5 separate regions of the Homo sapiens genome follow, and all the other regions are linked to region 1. The links are contacts of gene promoters, found by promoter capture Hi-C in blood cells and fetal thymus (Javierre and others, 2016). All regions are on one chromosome and are shown on one strand. Each heading gives the region's core, a stretch centred on a gene start or on the middle of the fragment in contact. The rest is flanking DNA. Distances are from core to core; before and after follow the strand shown. Region 1 holds the start of SLC26A2 (solute carrier family 26 member 2). Region 2 overlaps ARHGEF37 (Rho guanine nucleotide exchange factor 37). Region 3 overlaps ARHGEF37 (Rho guanine nucleotide exchange factor 37). Region 4 holds the start of LOC124901104. Region 5 has its middle 61 kb from the start of PPARGC1B.

Evidence for each region. Contacts are between HindIII fragments. The CHiCAGO score rates a contact against its expected background, and 5 or more counts as called.
Region 2: a contact is called between a fragment that was not itself captured here and the fragment with the promoter of SLC26A2 in region 1, in 3 of 17 cell types (erythroblasts, M1 macrophages and megakaryocytes). The highest score is 6.3, in erythroblasts.
Region 3: a fragment that was not itself captured here is called in contact with the fragment with the promoter of SLC26A2 in region 1 in 4 of 17 cell types (M1 macrophages, M0 macrophages, M2 macrophages and 1 more); the score reaches 8.3 in M1 macrophages.
Region 4: a fragment that was not itself captured here is called in contact with the fragment with the promoter of SLC26A2 in region 1 in 14 of 17 cell types (M2 macrophages, M0 macrophages, M1 macrophages and 11 more); the score reaches 15.6 in M2 macrophages.
Region 5: a contact is called between a fragment that was not itself captured here and the fragment with the promoter of SLC26A2 in region 1, in 2 of 17 cell types (erythroblasts and megakaryocytes). The highest score is 6.5, in erythroblasts.

The regions. Positions count from the first base shown.
Region 1 is chr5:149,958,759-149,962,258 of GRCh38, forward strand. SLC26A2 (solute carrier family 26 member 2) reads left to right here and starts at 2,000. Exons shown (of 3, transcript NM_000112.4): 1 at 2,000-2,221. RefSeq lists enhancers at 416-1,019, 816-895 and a silencer at 1,936-2,055. The HindIII fragment of the contact is 4,280 bases long and covers 1-3,500 here.
Region 2 is chr5:149,595,695-149,599,194 of GRCh38, forward strand. ARHGEF37 (Rho guanine nucleotide exchange factor 37) reads left to right here. Exons shown (of 13, transcript NM_001001669.3): 2 at 2,065-2,261. The coding sequence starts at 2,076. Among named protein-coding and RNA genes, the nearest start is that of ARHGEF37, 16 kb to the left of the region's middle. The HindIII fragment of the contact is 1,095 bases long and covers 1,254-2,348 here.
Region 3 is chr5:149,618,026-149,621,525 of GRCh38, forward strand. ARHGEF37 (Rho guanine nucleotide exchange factor 37) reads left to right here. Exons shown (of 13, transcript NM_001001669.3): 6 at 151-281; 7 at 913-1,017; 8 at 2,329-2,439. Among named protein-coding and RNA genes, the nearest start is that of ARHGEF37, 38 kb to the left of the region's middle. RefSeq lists an enhancer at 64-333. The HindIII fragment of the contact is 5,427 bases long and covers 1-3,500 here.
Region 4 is chr5:149,639,036-149,642,535 of GRCh38, forward strand. It overlaps LOC124901104, which reads right to left and starts at 2,446. Exons shown (of 3, transcript XR_007058990.1): 1 at 2,237-2,446; 2 at 1,964-2,113. The HindIII fragment of the contact is 4,395 bases long and covers 1-3,500 here.
Region 5 is chr5:149,667,991-149,671,490 of GRCh38, forward strand. No RefSeq gene overlaps it. Among named protein-coding and RNA genes, the nearest start is that of PPARGC1B, 61 kb to the right of the region's middle. The HindIII fragment of the contact is 4,581 bases long and covers 1-3,500 here.

The sequences.
Region 1 (3,500 bases), core at 750-3,249:
TGGCACGATCTCGGCTCACTGCAACCTCTGTCTACTGGGCTCAAGCTGTCCTCCCACCCCAGCCTCCTGAGTAGCTGGGACTACAGGCACATGCTACCATGCCTGGCTACTTTTTTCTATTTTTGGTAGAGTTGGAGTTTCACCATGTTGTCCAGGCTGGTCTCTAACTCCTGAGCTCAAGTGGCTTATAGGCATGAACCACCATGCCCGGCCAAATTTGGCCAATCTTTATTGGTGCCTGTTATATGCAAGGTCCTGGCTTCCCCACACAGACAAGAAAACAAACAAATAAATGAATAAATGTCAGCTGCAAGGATTGGAGTGGATTCTTGCATTTGCATAGCACAGTGAGTGTAGTGGTTAAGAGTGGGCTTTGCAGTCAGACGTGACTGTGTTAAAATCATGCTACTGTCACTTATTAACTGTGGGACGTTGGGCAGATCACCTAACATCTCTGAGCCTCATTTCCTCACCAAAAAAAAGAAGAATCATAATATGGCACCTCCTCTAAAGCTGTTGTGAGGATTAACTCATGTAATGAATGTGAAGAGTTCTGCGCAGGCACGTGATAAACATCCAGAAACTGTTTATTCTGCTTGTTGTGCAGTCTTTAGGGCTTAAACAAAGTACTTTACACTGATTGCCTTACCTGACCCTCTCCAGGACTCTGGGTGCTAGGGCATTAACTACCCTTTGAAAGGTGAAAACATTGATGCCCATTGAGGTGAAATGATTTGTCTTCAGCCACAAGGGGCAGCATCAGGAGTAGAACCCAAGTGTTTGTGTTCTGATTCCCAAGACAGCTTATGACGTTTTGGAAACTCTGAATCTGATGGGTGACAGAAACTTGGGGATCATCTCTAGATAAGAAAGGGAGTTCCTTGAATGACTGTGAAGACGTTCACCGGAAAGGGAAGGAAAGGAAGTTAATCATGCTTCCTTCACAGGCCCTCCTTCACCCCCATCTAGTGGGCACATGCAAGCTACAAACAAGGTGAGGAATGAACAAATTAATACATACTCAATAGTGGCCAGTTCGAGGCAGATAATTAAATCAAGATGACCTGAAAGGATGTGACTGGCTGTGGCTAGTTTACACAGGGTGGTCAGGGACGGCCTCGCCATGGAGAGGGCTGGTGTTTTGGCTGAGACCTGAGAGACCAGAAGAAATCTGATGGCCAGAACCAATGTTTAGGTCCCTAAAGAGAACAAGCGTGGCGAGCAAAGGGGGCCAGTATGGGTGGAGATCAGCGAGGGAGGGGGGCAGAGATGAGTGCCCGAAGCACACAGTACCTTGGCATAGGGAGGGTTTGATTTTACCTACAAATGCCATTAAACCCACTAAGGATTTTAACAAAAACTACAATTACATTTTAATTTACATTTTATGTTTTATAGAGACAAGGTTCGGCTATACTGCCCAGGTTGATCTCGAACCCCTGGGTTCAAGCGATCCTCCCTACTCGGTCCCCCAAAGTGCTGGGATTACAAGCGTGAGCCGCTGCGCCCGGCCTTTTAATTTACATTTTAGCCTTCCGGTTACTGGAATCTTTGATGGGGAATGAGTTATAGTGAGGCAAGAGCCTCTAACATTCTAGGAGCTCTTTTCCCGTTCGGGGCCTCAATTTCCCGTTCTACAAAGGCGGGTGGGAGGGAACGGGGTCCCAAGTAGTACTGGATAAAGAGGTGGCCGATCGCAAACGCTGAGCACTTCAAAACTCTGGGCAGAGCGCTTCCGCGCCTCTCCTGCTATTTCACCCTGGCCACAGGCTAGCCGCCGAGGCCGGTCATCCGCTCTCTCCGCGGAGGAGTCAACGCCACGGAAGCAGCGGCGGAACCTCTCTAAGAATCCTTCCAGCTTGTGCTCTTCTGTCCAGGGCAGCCAATCGCGAGGAGGAGAGTAGTCAGAGGGCGGCACCCTCCCCGGTCTGGGCCGAGTTATTGGCTGGTGGTAGCGTCGCTCGCCCGGCAGTACCACGTGACGGCCTCGGCCGCGGGCGTTTACACTGGCTCTGCCTCCGGCATCTCTTCGCCGGTGCGTCCTCGCCGCGCCCGTAGGTCCCGGCAGCCGGGCCCCGCCTCCTTCGGAGTCCGAGCGATGGGCGGGGAAAGGGACAGGCAGGTATAGCTCTGTCGGCGCCGCGGTGTCCACCTCAGTCAGGCCACGGTGGAAGACGCGTGCCGCGGCGCCTGGTTGCCTGCAGCGGCCCGGACCCGAGAGGTGAGAAGAGGGAAGCGGACCAGGGAAGAGGGAGGGAGCGGTGCTGGCCGCCAAGCGGTCAGCGGGCCCCTCCCAGAGTCATTCTGCCTGGGTCCCCGCGCGGTAGAATCCCAGATCAGGGGTCGCCGCCGTGGAGCGGGGCGTGCGTCAGGTTATTTCCCGGGTGGTCCGGGGCCGGGCGAGTGGCACTGCACCCTGGTGATCCGGGCCTGCCCGTCTGGCTGGCGGCTGCCCACCCGCCCTCCATCCCGCGTATCTCGCCGTATCTCGCCGGGTGCCACGCACTCCGCTGCTTTTCCAGTCCTCGTTGATCCGTCTCGAACCTAGATATCTGGAATAGGGATCGAGGAGATAGGAGCCACCACCACCTCGGACAGATGGGGAAACTGAGGCCGGCACAGGCGAGACGGCTTGGTTATCTTGGTTATTAAAAATCACACACCCGATTAAGTACAAAATCAGGACCTGTTCTTTCGGACTCACACACTAAGTTGGTATTATTTCACTGGATGGATGGAAACACTGAGAAGACAGAGAGGGCCCAGAGCCTTGCCTAAAAATACACAGCAAGTCTTTTGCAGAGCTAGGACTTGTACCCAGCTCTCCAAACTCATAGACTATCAGCCTGGGCTCCTTCCTTGCACAGATTGGGGATCACAGTGAGTTAGAAACATTCAGAACTTAAATTGCCTTCCGGCGCCCATTCTAGTTAACCTGTCTTTTCTCCTTGTCCCCAACAGTTCTTTATGTGAAATCTACAACTAATGTGATATGCAATACTAGATTAAGCAGAACTTTTTGTTTTTGAAAATTGAATCAATAAGAAATGGAGGGCCAAAGCTGTGGGAAAGGAATGGACCCTTTAAAATCAGGAATCTCAAGGCAGGATATAGCAAGGGACAGAGACTAATAGCTGTCGTTTATTGAGTAAATGCTATGTGCCAGGCACTGTGGTAGGTAGTTGTGTTAGCCTTACAAACCAGCAAGTTAGGTAATGTTACCCCATTTTACAGGTCAGAAATTGATGCTGAGTACAGTGAAGTTTTACAAAACCATTGCCATATGACTGCTGAGCAGTATAGCTGGGATCTGAACAGAGATCTGTTTGACTTCCAGAACACATCCAGTGATTCTCCAAGTGTGGTCCTAAGCTCACTCGTTCAGCATCATCTAGCGTGTGGAGTCCTGGATCTCATCCTTGGATTTGCAGGGATGGTCCTAAGAAGCTAACGGCTCTCTGTATTTGACAATTATTGTACTGTAATGTGCTGCCTCCTAG
Region 2 (3,500 bases), core at 551-3,050, 360 kb before region 1:
GCCTAGGTTAAAGACGTGTCCTTCTGGAAACATTTTATTTTGTTGTGGCCACTCAGAATTCAGGATTTCTTTTTGTATAAATTTATCAGCTTTGGGCCACCTGGACCACATGTGTAGCATTGATTTGGACCTAAACCCAGTGAAGGCAGGTGTGTTGTTACGAATTTATGTTATGAAGGAGACCTTTTTTCCTCACCCAGAACCCAAGCCAGGATGAACTGTCTTTGTCATCTTCTGTGTGGATAGCTGCATTTTTTTTTTTTTTTCCTGATCCACCATTTCACAGAAGTCCTTGTGGCTGGGGGGGTCCCAGTTCTGTGAAGGAGCTTGTCTCCTATTCCTACCTGGGCACTAATGCCCAAGTCTCTGGTTCACTGAGTTTCAAATACTGTCTTCCTTACCCACCCCTCTACTTTGGGCCACAGCTGCATCAGCTCAGCTGCTCCCCACCGTAGTTTTCAATTCCCTGTTTGAGGGCCCTAGTGATTTCTTTTCCTCCCTTACAAGATCTGTCATGCAGTTAAAAAGTTTATTATAACTGATCTAGCATTCCTAAGTGTTTTGTAGTAGGAAAGTTTTTCAGATCATCTTGTCCATGGTATTGCCCTTTACGCTTTATTATTATTTTGAGATGGAGTCTTGCTCTGTCACCCAGGCTGGAGGGCAGTGGCACAATCTCGGCTCACTGCAACCTCCACCTCCTGGGTTCAAGTGATTCTCTTACCTCAGCCTCCCGAGTAGCTGGGATTACAGGTGTGCACCACCACACCCGGCTAATTTTTGTATTTTGAGTAGAAATGCGGTTTTACCATGTTGGCCAGGCTGGTCTCGAACTCCTGACCTCAGGTGGTTTGCCCACCTCAGCCTCCCAAAGTGCTGGGATTACAGGCGTGAGCCACCGCACCCGGGCCCTTGATACTTTATAAGTTAGAGATAAAGGATTGCAGGAGTTTCAGAGAAGAAAAGTGCAGCTGGTGGGAGTGAGAAATGAGGGGAGGATCAAGAGTAGCCTTAGAGAAGTGAATGCTGGGGGATAGGAACACAGGAGGGGGCATGGCAAGTGCAAAAGCAGGAAATGCCAATGCAAGTATGGAGAAGAGCGCTCAACTCTCTTTCCACTGCAGTACAACCTGTGAAGAGGAAATGAAGTTAGAGCCTGGAGTGCAGTCTGTGAAGGGGAAATGAGGTTGGAATCAGATCACTGAGCAGCAGGAAGCTACTAAAGTCTTACAGCAGGGCACACCATGTTCACAAGCTTTGTTTCAGGGAGTTTAAACTGGAAATGTGTCCAGAAAGAATGGGTGTGGTGGTGGCAGGAGAGCAGTGTGGATTAGGAAGGATGACTCTGAGGGCTGTGGAAATAGCCCAGGCGATGGGTAGTAAGGCCTAAATGGGGTAGCTGGTGGGATGGGGTGTAGGGGGACCACTGGGAGAGGGTGAAAGAGATTCAGCTGTACCAGATAAAGAAATCTAGGTCAAGAGCTGGATTGGAAATAGAAGAAAAGCCAGGCAAGCATGTTGTCTGGGTCCTGGGAAATGAATTCAAAATGTCAAGAATTATCTATTAAAAAAAAATTTTTTTTGTAAGAATCTTGCTCTGTTGCCCAGGCTGGAGTGCAGTGGTGTGATCTTGGCTCACTGCAACCTCTGCCTCCCGGGTTCAAGTGATTCTTCTGCCTCAGCGTATCTGAGTAGCTGGGACTACAGGAGCCCGCCACCATGCCTGGCTAATTTTTGTATTTTTAGTAGAGACGGGGTTTCATCATGTTGGCCAGGCTGGTCTCGAACTCCTGACATCAGGTGATCTGCCCACCTTGGCCTCCCAAAGTGCTGGGATTACAGGCATGAGCCACCACCTAAAATGTCAAGAGTTATCAGAGCTGTTACCTGCCTTTCAATATTGTTCAGGTACTGCCTACAAATGCTAATAAACAGTTCATCTTGACTCTGTTTGCAGCTTAAGATGTTTTTAGGCCTCTTGATGAGTAATTGTCATTGAATTAGAGACAGCATGTCCCAATAGTTCTTCCTGGAAGTGAGTGGGGATGCTTTTGCTTTTCCCAGAACCTGCTGACATGGCCAAGCATGGAGCCGACGAGCCATCCTCCAGGTCAGGGAGTCCGGACAGGGAAGGTAGGGCCTCTGAGGACAGATCGCTGCTTCATCAGAGGCTGGCTGTCCGGGAGCTCATCGACACTGAGGTCTCCTACTTGCACATGCTCCAGCTCTGTGCCTCTGACATCAGGAGCCGCCTCCAGCAGGTACTTGGGTGGGGTCACACACAACCTGTCTTTATAGGGGCAAATGTGGGTCCCAGCTTCTGAGATTTCTCATCCATTCCTGGGGCAAGCTTGACAGAAAGGAAGCGTGGTAGATGTGAAGTCTGACAGACCTGGATGTAAGCCCCAGTACTTCTTTTCCTTGGCCGTGCAACCTCCATCAAGGTCTTCCATGGCTTAGAGTCTTAGTGTATTCCTTGGCTAACTGGTGAGCGGAATAATCACTGGGAGACCTATGTGAGCTAATGAACAAGCCCTTTTCAAGTTTGGAACAGATTGCTTAAACTGACTCTTCTTCTTCTTCTTCTTCTTCTTCTTCTTCTTCTTCTTCTTCTTCTTCTTCTTCTTCTTCTTTCTTCCTCTTCCTCTTCCTCTTCTTCTTCCTCTTCCTCTTCTTCCTCTTCCTCTTCTTCCTCTTCCTCTCCTTCCTCTTCCTCTTCTCCTTCTTCTCCTTCTCCTTCTTCTCCTTCCTCTTCTTTCTTCTTCCTCTTCTTTCTTTTTCCTCTTCTTCTTCTTCCTCCTCTTCTTCTTTTTTTCCTGCTTCCCCTTCAAGGGTCTCTTTATTCGATCACAAAGTCACTGTCAGCGACTTGGCCTGGCCCTCTATGGCTTCCAACAAGGAAATGCTTAAAAGTCAGGAAATGCATTTGCTGCCTTTCCTAGTACCAAAAATTGACTACAACCTCTTTGGGTACCCTGAGATAAATCAATAGCATTTGCTTTTTCTTTACTTTTCTAACAGAATTCCAGAAAAAATAAATCTCATATATATATATCTATATATAGATATAGATATAGATATAGATATATAGATATAGATATATAGATATATATATGTGTGTGTGTGTGTATATATATATGTATATTTATATTTATATACACACATTCATATATAGAGAGATCCCTCAATCAAGAAGAGGCAAAGGATCCAGCATCCTCTGAGGTGCCCCTTGGCCTGGTGCAGGAAGGCCAGGAGGCACCAGCTGTCTTGGGAATCACCTTGAGATGTGCAGTGCTGAGCTGGTGTGGCATGGATGGGGGTCTGCAACAGCCTTCTCCCTCTAAGGAAGGTGGAACTAGGACAAACCAGGGGAGCCCTCACTCAAGCTTTCCACACATCCTGAAACGTGAGCTGTACCTGATGGAGCTTTGAAACTAAAACCCAAAGTGCAGATACAAAAGGATTCCCTGATAGGCCTCTAGGGGACTGACTCCTTAGGG
Region 3 (3,500 bases), core at 335-2,834, 340 kb before region 1:
CTATGCTTTTCCTGTGTGACTCACTAACCTCATGAATGTGACCCTGATGGAGCAGAGGGCCCAAGCAGGTGCCCAGCCGGGCATGTCCGTGACATCCACTTTCCTGAGTTGGCTTGATCACCGTGCTTCCCCTCTTCTCTGTCGTTGCAGCCTCCAAGTACACCAAGGTAGAGCAGCTGACCCTCCGGGAGCGGCTGGCCCGCATCAACACACACACCCTCTCCAAGAAGACCACCCGGCTGAGCCAGCTGCTGAAGCAGGAGGCGGGGCTGATCCCCAGGGTGAGCGTGCGCCTGGGAGGAAGAGTCACATCCAGCCACCCCCAAGGCCAGGCCCTGCACAGTGGGTAGACAGGGGACTTAGGCTCCTTTCAGAACTGAGGCAATGGAGGCTGAGAGATTGAGGTGCTGGGAAGAGGCAGAGGTGGCACCCCACTTGATTCTGAAGAGCCAGTGGAGGGGTTTCTCCAGTGTCTTGGGCCACTCTCTTTGGGGCCTATTTACACAGATAGGAGAGCTGGTCTCTGGGTTTGGGCAAAGGACCAGCCCTAAATAGCTACTTCTAGCAGCACAGGTTGGTGGAGTGCCTGCTCTGAAACCAAGCATGCTCACACAATGAAATAAGTGTTCCCACTATCCCCATGAGAAAACAGAAACTCCGAGAGGGTAAAACCCTTGTCCAGAGTCACACGGCTAGGAAGCCAATGAACTGGGGCTCATGCTTGTGTATCCGATTCCATGCTCTGAATGTAAAACCACTGAGCTACACCACCCTCTCAGCTTTGGGGTTGCGAGAACCAGCTCTGGTGGGCGAGTCTGTGGAAAGGTTGTCCCAGTGAGGACCTGGAACACTGAAGCCGGTGTACACTGCCCCCATGTGGATATTCTCAACCCTCACACACATTACTTTCAGACAGAAGACAAGGAATTTGATGATTTAGAAGAGAGGTTCCAGTGGGTGTCTCTGTGTGTGACTGAGCTGAAGAACAACGTGGCTGCTTACCTGGACAATCTGCAGGTGAGGACACTGCAGGGTTCATAAAGGGCGAGTCTGGGCTGGGTTCCCCTGGCAGGAGGCTTGCAGGGCCCAGCCTACAAGCTGGGAAAGGCACCAGCCTCAGAAACCAACCAGATGAGGTCATCCTGTCTCATCTCTTCTGGAGAATGCTGGCCAGCACTCCTCAGCCCCAGGCCATTATACTGGGGGCAGCTCCGAGCCCATTGGAGTTCCTACCACATAGGGCCAAAATTCACTGGAAGCAGAGCCCCGCAGAGCAACTCTGCCAGACCAGCACCTAGAGCAGGGGAGACAAACAGGTGCCTAAAGGGGCCAGGCAGGTAATGCTACTGAGTGAAGTGTGCAGGTAACAGGCAATCCAATGCAATAGGAGCCTAGTGTCTAACAGGCTGTTTATGAGACTTTTCAGTGAACTTAAATATAAAATAATATTTGGAATTTGAAGGGCTGAATGAATGAATACATGAATCAAATCTAAAGGAGCAGCTATTCCTCAGCTCTGGGGGGTTGTTGCTGGGTGAGAATATGGGCCCAGTTCTTCTGACTTTAAGAAAAACACACCTGGAAATTCAGGTATTTTTCAGATTTTTGATGACATCTCCTGATGCGTCAATGTGAGCAACTAATTAAATGAAGATTTAAATGCTATGGGGCATTTTTTTAATGCATTGATGTAAATAGGAAAAGTTAGAGAAAAGTATTAATAGAACATGTGGAATATGGACATGGGAAAAAACAAACGCACTGCTGGGTGCAGTGGCTTACGCCTGTAATCCCAGAATTTTGGAAGGCCGAGGCGGGAAGATCACTTGAGGTCAGGAGTTCAAGACCAGCCTGGTCAACATGGTGAAACCTTGTGTCTACTAAAAATACGAAAAACATTAGCCAGGCAAGGTGTCACACGCCTGTAGTCCCAGCTACTCAGGAGGCTGAGGCAGGAGAATTGCTTGAACCTGGGAGGCAGAGATTGCAATGAGCCAAGATCATGCCACTGCACACCAGCCTGGGTGACAGAGTGAGACTCTGTCTCAAAAAAAAAAAAAAAGAAAAAGAAAAAAACCCCACAAAGGTGGCATGTAAATGTATGAAGTTCAAGAAGCACTGGAATGAGGAGAAAGATGTTGACTCAGTCTAAGGCGGAACTTTCTAATCACTTAAGCTGTGTGAGAATAGAATCAGCTGTGTGTGTCCCTCTCATTGGGGGTGTGTAGAGAGCCTGGAAAACCTCTTCAAGGTATGGTGGAAGGGGATTCCAGCGTAAGATGGCCATGACAGGCATGATTGGATGTTTCTCCTTGGTACTGGGTCCAGGCTTTCCTCTACTTCAGGCCGCACGAATACAATCTGGACATCCCCGAGGGGCCTGCAGTGCAGTATTGCAATTTGGCAAGAGACCTTCACCTTGAGGCCTTCCTGAAATTTGTGAGTGGAACCTTTCCTTTCTCCTTTCTTTGTTAGGCAGGTGGTAGAGCTTACAAGAATAATATTTAGAAGTCAGGCACTTTGGCCAGGCGTGGTGGCTCACGCCTGTAATCCCAGCACTTTGGGAGGCCGAGGCAGGCAGATTGCCTGAGCTCAGGAGTTTGAGACCAGCCTGGGCAATACGATGAAACCCCGTCTCTACTAAAAATACAGAAAATTAGCCGGGCATGGCAGTGTGCACCTGTAGTCCCAGCTACTCAGGAGGCTGAGGCAGGAGAATTGCTTGAACCCAGGAGGCAGAGGTTGCAGTGAGCCGAGATCATGCCACCGCACTCCAGCCCGGAGACAGAGTGAGACTCCTTCTCAAAAAAAGAAGTCAGGCACTTTACACAATTGCCACATCTGTAATCTTCCTGAGTGGTCAGCAGCATAGAGATTATTATTAGTGCACTTTCCTGATAAAAATAGCCCCCACTAACATTTATTGAGCCTCACTATCTGCCAGGCTCTATGCTAAGCCCTTTATATTCCTTACATCATTTAATCCTCACCATATGGTTTTGGGGGTGGCTACTTTGAATAACCCCATTCTGCAGGTGAGAGATTGAGGCTCAGAGGGGGTCACCTCCTGGGTCATTTATACAGATGGTCAGTGATAAGCTGGGATCTGAGCCCCAAAGACTCTTGACCACCACTCTATACAAAATCTTTTCTAAGGCTGGGCAAGGTGGCTTATGCCTGTAATCCCAGCACTTTGGGAGGCCAAGGCAGGAGGATTGCTTGAGCCCAGTTGTTAGAGACCACTGTGGGCAACATAGACCCTGTCTCTACAAAAAATAATAATAATAAAATTAGCTGGGTGTGGTGGCATGTGCTAAGGTGGGAGGATCGCTTGAGCCTGACAGGTAGGCTGCGGTGAGCTGTGATTGCATTGCTGCACTGCAGCCTGGGAGACAGAGTGAGACCCTGTCTCAAAAAAAAAAACAAAAAACTTTTTCAAGGTCTTTGCATAATAATGATTCAAAGTGCTATATAAGATTGAATGCCTACTCTGTGCTAAG
Region 4 (3,500 bases), core at 406-2,905, 320 kb before region 1:
CTGTGGTCCCAGCTCCCACTGGACAGCCCCTCCCTTGTGGTCCCACGTCCCATCAAACAGGCCTGGCTGTGCTTCCAGTTTCTGTCTGGTGACACCAGATCCTAGACACTAGGATCTTCCCCGCATCCCTCCAGTGGAGGGGTTGTAATGTCTTTTTGCTATTGTTCATCTCTGGGGTGCTTCTCAGATCTTTCACCTGTGTAACCTACTCCCCAGAATGAATTCCTTCTGTTCTTTTTAAAAATTTTTAGATGGAGTCTCGCTCTGTCACCCAGGCTGGAGTGCAGTGGCATGATCTCTGCTTACTGCAACCTTCAGCTCCTTCAGGTTCAAGCAATTCTCCTGCCTCGGGCTCCTGAGTAGCTGGGATTACAGGTGCCCGCCGCCATTCCTGGCTAATTTTTGTATTTTTAGTAGAGACAGGGTTTCACCATGTTGGCCGGGTTGGTCTCGAATTCCTGACCTCAGGAATTCCTGACCACCTAGGCCTCCCAAAGTGCAAAGATTACAGGTGTGAGCCACCGCGCTCAGCCCAAATTCCTTCTGTTCTAATGCATAGAGTAGTTTCTGCTTTCTGACTGGACAGCAAAATACCACTCAGAAGCCAGGGCTGCAGGGAGGGGCTGGGTCTTGGTGCTATGGGATCCCTGGCACCTCCCTGGTACCTGGTCCCTCAGGCAGCCCAGCCCTTGGGGAACAATGGAAATCATCTCTAGGTCTGTCTGCACCTTCCCTGGTTCAGGGGGCTGTCAGCCATTCCTACATGGAGCTCTTGGAATGTCTTCAGTCCCAGAAGAACTGAGCTGGTCATGCTCCAGTATCAGTGGCTGTGGTAGTCTGCTGAGCTGCCCCAGTCTTGGCTGGCTGAGACCATTACTGCCAGGCCCAGAGCAGACAAACACAGAGGAAATCCAAGGGCACTGTGTCAGTGCAGAGCCAGGGTTTGGGGAAGGGCCAGGCCCTACAGCCCTGGGGGAGGGGAGGAGGAAACACAATTTTCTAGCCATGATGCCTCAGCAGCATGTGTCTGGCCCCTACTCAGAAGGGGCAGTGAGCCCCAGGTTTGGGAAATGGGAAGTGGGATGGGGCTTCTGGCCAGGGCAGAAGCTGCTGGTCTTGGGGTCTCAGGGCTCCTGGGCACATCAGTAGAGCCTCTGGTGTGGGAATAGAGCAGCACGTTAATAGCAATAACTGCAGCATCTATTCACTACTCACAAGGCTGTTTGAGGTTAAACGAGGGAATCCACTTTACAGGACTAATTCAATGCCTGGCACATAGGAAGCTCTCAAGAGCTGCAAGCTAAAAGACCAAACACAAGTCTCAACAGCAGCCAGCTGCCATGGGCCTCACGCTGTTGGGCTGTCATGAGACTAGTGGTCTGGATGGAGCCCCAGGCCTCTCCCCTGGGGCAGGGCTGGAATTGGGGACACAGATCCAGCTAGAAGAGGGCCGAGTCAGGTGAAGGATCACGGGAGTTGGGAGGGCATGGTGATTCTGGGGCACACTCCCCAGGGATGTGGGGGAGGCAGCAGGTGTCCATCAGGCAGTTGGAGCTGCCGTGGGACACGGGAATGGGCATCTCCTAGTGTCCAGGCAGGTCAGAGGTCAGAGCCAGGTCAGACTGTGGGCAGCAGGGTTTCAATCTTTGGTTGGGGTTCAAGCACTAAGCTCTGGGGAAGGAGAGATCAGGCCGATGAAAGATACAGAGATCATAGCAGGAGGCAGCATTGAGAACTGGGCACAGGGTTAGAGTATGACTGTCAGTGCAAGGGACTTTGTATTGGGCTCTGGTGGCTGCCCTAGAGCTGCTTAAAACCCTCCCATATGAGGACAGCATGGTTTTAGGGAGCCATGTGGGGCCAGACTTGGGAGAGTGTCTTGGGATGAAGAGGTGGGGTGGTAGCCAGAAGGCCAGACTTCCCATGCAAAATACCCTCGTTCAAATCCTGTCCCCACACTTACCAGCTGTGTGGCCGCCTTCAAACAAGTTGCTTCATCTCTCTGACGCCTCACTTTCCTCACTTTCCTCCTTGTGGGCAAACCAGGAAAGAGTCCTGCCGATGGGGTTGTTGGGATGTGGACACAGGATACATCACGGGAGACTTTGGCACTCTGTCAGGCACATAAAAGTGCTTAATAACAACTTGATCCTTGGCCACACAAGCCAGTTTTGATCCCTCCCCCGCCCTTCCCCGTATTTCTTCCAAGTGTTGCAGGCAGCGACCCCACACTCACACCCGCTGTGCCTTCAGCTTTCTCCCTAATGCCCATGGCTCTGACCCTTCACCGCCGGGAATTCTGAAAAATACCCCATGGCTGCCTGAGTTCTTTCAAAACTGAAAGCAAGTAGATGTCTTAAGAGGCCAAAGGTTGTTCCCCTGGGAACGTAACTGTAACCATGTCCTCAAATACTCTCTGGCGATCAGTCGGCCATCTTGAGTTACTGCAGGCTCCAGGCGCCTCCCCGGTCTGCTGATGGTGCGGTTGCAGCTGATTGGCCGGCGTGTGGGAGTGCACCTTCCCCCTACTTTTTTGTTTTTTAATTTTTTAATCATCTTTCTAAATGCTTTTATTTTCATTTTTCATCCTCCCTGCTCCCCGAAAAAGTCATGGGTCAGAACAGCAACCATAAAATACAAATGCAAACACAGACCAGGCACAGTGGTTCACACCTAAAGTCTCAGCACTTTGAGAGGCCAAGACGGGAGGATTGCTTGAGTCCAGGAGTTCGAGACCAGCCTGGGCAACATGGTGAAACCCCGTCTCTCCAAAAAAATACAAAAATTAGCTGAGTATGGTGGCACATGCCTTTGGTACCAGCTACTCGGGAGGCTGAGGCAGGAGGATCACTTGAGCCTGCTGAGGCTGAGGCTGCAGTGAGCTGAGATCTCACCACTGCACTCACCAGTTTGGGTGACAGAGTGAGAAAAAAAAAAAGAATACAAACACATTAATACACACACACACACAATTGGAAAAATCTCAACATCCATCCCCTTCTTTTTACACACCCCCATCCCACCTCCCACACCAGAGATTCCAGGGTGTGGCACTCCCCTTAGGAGCATTGTGCCTCCACCCCTACCTTGAAAATCACAGCTACCAGCCAAAAGCACTTTGTCCAGATTTACTTTCTGTCATTTATGCTGTGGGTATAATTTTTTTGTTGTTTTTCTTAATGGATAACAATATGCATGTAATACATTATTTTTAATAAAATTAGATATTAAATTTAAATTATATAATCCTCCCCCCAAAATTCGGTCACATTTCTTTAGCCCCCTGTAAGGTACAACATCAACAATAAACACCTACCCTGCAACTTGGAGCTTGCAAACACCTAACCTGCAATTTACTAAGAGGGGAAGATGACGGCAAGCAAGGCTTTGTGTCACTCTTCCCATAGTCTTCCCCTCTTAGTAAACAGTGCCATCATCCACACAATTGTTCCCACCAGAAACCGGGGCCTCATCCCTGATTCCTCTCTTCCTCTCAGCCC
Region 5 (3,500 bases), core at 711-3,210, 290 kb before region 1:
AAAGAGGTGTTTTCTGTTATTAGTGTTGCTGTTGATTGCTTGAAATGGTTTTATAGATTGCTTTTTCTTATTACTCGTTAGGAATTAGGTGGAGTCTGTCACTTTTAGGCTCTGAGCCACCACTGAGTCTAATCTTCCACTCTTCAGTTGATCTGAAACTTCTGTTTTTTGGCTTAAGAACTAACACACACTTAGACTTGTCTTCCTCTTCCCTTTTATCACCAACACAAGTCGGCTTATTTTTCAACGAGTGTATCTTGTAGAAAGCCATTTTTTAAAAAAAATTATCCCTGGAGAATGTCAGGATAGGTGACAAGTGTTGACCTGTACCTGCTGGGCAGCAGGCTAGGCTTACAGACTGTTGTTATTCTTCCCAGCATACCAGCTTCCCAGGGCCATGATTTACATCTGGACCCAGCACAATGACTAATATATACCATGAACATTCTGGTTTGCTCACAAATAATTGAAACCAAACATTTAAATTAAACAATGCCAAGAATCTAAGGTAGCAAGCTGATGGCTAGCTAATTTCCTAGAAGCCCCAACAGTCCCACCTGTTATTTTTTTTTTTAACTTCTTAAATGCACAAATTTATTTTTTCTCAACAAACACACATCTTAATGCCTTTACAACTTTTATCTCCCCAAATATATCTTGCTTTTCTTTATACATGCTGTATACAGAGTTGTTTTCTTTATATTTAGTAGTTATTGCTTTTTTGTGCCCTTTTGGGTCCTGAATTTACACATCAGGCATAGAGCTTGGGACAGGAAAGAGCTGTGAAGCAAATTCCTGGAAGATCAAACCCCTTCCAGCATGGCCAGGTAGCACAGCTGAGCCAGGGATGATGGGGCCATATTGGGTTTGGCTCTGCCTTGCAGCTGGCAGTCCAAACACTGAGGACATGCATATATTTCTGCAGGCCTCACTATGGTCATCTGTCCAAACCCCAGAATCCAGAGACTCAAAACGAAATACAGTCATACAGTAAGATATGTGCAAGGTTTCAGGGAGCCCAGCAGCCAGACCTTACAGCTTTAGCTCAATTTAGACAAATCAAGCAAGTTTAAGAAATATTCCAGAAGTAGCAGTTTTATGACCTTAAAACATGTAATAGGCTGGGCACGGTGGCCCATGCCTGTAATCCCAGCACTTTGGGAGGCCAAGGTGGGCAGATCACTTGAGGTCAGGAGTTCGAGACCAGCCTAGCCAACATGGTGAAATCCTGTTTCTACTACAAACACAAAAATTAGCCAAGTATGGTGGCATACACCTGTAGTTTAGCTATTCGGAAGGCTGAGGCAGGAGAATCACTTGAACCTGGGAGACGGAAGTTGTGGTGAGCTGAGATCTCACCACTGCACTCCAGCCTGGGCAATGAGAGCAAAACTCCAGCTCAAAAACAAAAAACAAATTAAAAAAAAAAAAAAAAAAAAAAAAAAAAGTAATAGAGACAATGTAAACCTGTCTGTCAGTAGACCCAGGCAAAAACAATTATATTTAACTGACAATCCTGAAGCCTTTCCAATTTTCTTTTTCTTTCTTTTTTTTTTTTTTATTGATCATTCTTGGGTGTTTCTCGCAGAGGGGGATTTGGCAGGGTCACAGGACAATAGTGGAGGGAAGGTCAGCAGATAAGTGAACAAAGGTCTCTGGTTTTCCTAGGCAGAGGACCCTGCGGCCTTCCGCAGTGTTTGTGTCCCTGGGTACTTGAGATTAGGGAGTGGTGATGACTCTTAAGGAGCATGCTGCCTTCAAGCATCTGTTTAACAAAGCACATCTTGCACCACCCTTAATCCATTCAATCCTGAGTGGACACAGCACATGTTTCAGAGAGCACAGGGTTGGGGGTAAGGTCACAGATCAACAGGATCCCAAGGCAGAAGAATTTTTCTTAGTACAGAACAAAATGAAAAGTCTCCCATGTCTACCTCTTTCTACACAGACATGGCAACCATCCGATTTCTCAATCTTTTCCCCACCTTTCCCCCCTTTCTATTCCACATTGTCATCATGGCCCGTTCTCAATGAGCTGTTGAGTACATCTCCCAGACGGGGTGGTGGCCGGGCAGAGGGGCTCCTCACTTCCCAGTAGGGGCAGCCGGGCAGAGGCGCCCCTCACCTCCCGGACGGGGCGGCTGGCCGGGCGGGGGGCTGACCCCCCCCACCTCCCTCCCGGATGGGGTGGCTGGCCGGGCAGAGGGGCTCCTCTCTTCCCAGTAGGGGCGGCCAGGCAGAGGCGCCCCTCTCTTCCCAGTAGGGGAGGCCGGGCAGAGGCGCCCCTCACCTCCCGGATGGGGCGGCTGGCCGGGCGGGGGGCTACCCCCCCACCTCCCTCCTGGACGGGGCGGCTGGCCGGGCCAGGGGCTGACCCCCCACCTCCCTCCCGGACGGGGCGGCTGGCTGGGCAGAGGGGCTCCTCTCTTCCCAGTAGGGGCGGCCGGGCAGAGGCGCCCCTCACCTCCCGGATGGGGCGGCTGGCCGGGCGGGGGGCTGACCCCCCCACATCCTTCCTGGATGGGGCGGCTGGCCGGGCAGAGGGGCTCCTCACTTCCCAGTAGGGGCGGCCGGGCAGAGGCGCCCCTCACCTCCTGGACGGGGCGGCTGGCCGGGCGGGGGGCTGACCCCCCCACCTCCCTCCCAGACGGGGTGGCTGCCGGGCGGAGACACTCCTCACTTCCCAGACGGAGTGGCTGCCGGGCGGAGGGGCTCCTCACTTCTCAGACGGGGCGGTTGCCAGGCAGAGGGTCTCCTCACTTCTCAGACGGGGCGGCCGGGCAGAGACGCTCCTCACATCCCGGACGGGGCGACAGGGCAGAGGCGCTCCCCACATCTCAGACGATGGGTGGCCGGGCAGAGACGCTCCTCACTTCCTAGATGGGATGGCGGCCGGGCAGAGACGCTCCTCACTTTCCAGACTGGGCAGCCAGGCAGAGAGGCTCCTCACATCCCAGACGATGGGCGGCCAGGCAGAGACACTCCTCACTTCCCAGACGGGGTGGCGGCCGGGCAGAGGCTGCAATCTCGGCACTTTGTGGGGCCAAGGCAGGCGGCTGGGAGGTGGAGGTTGTAGCCAGCCGAGATCACGCCACTGCACTCCAGCTTGGGCACCATTGAGCACTGAGTGAACACGACTCTGTCTGCCATCCCGGCACCTCGGGAGGCCGAGGCTGGCGGATCACTCGCGGTTAGGAGCTGGAGACCAGCCCGGCCAACACGGCGAAACCCCGTCTCCACCAAAAAAATACGAAAACCAGTCAGGCGTGGCGGCGCGCGCCTGCAATCGCAGGCACTCGGCAGGCTGAGGCAGGAGAATCAGGCAGGGAGGTTGCAGTGAGCCAAGATGGCAGCAGTACAGTCCAGCTTTGGCTCGGCATCAGGGGGAGACCATGGAAAGAGAGGGAGAGGGAGACCGTGGGGAGAGGGAGAGGGAGAGGGAGAGGGAGAGCCCCACCTGTTATTATAATAATGATGTCATTTGGAGAATCATTTTCTGT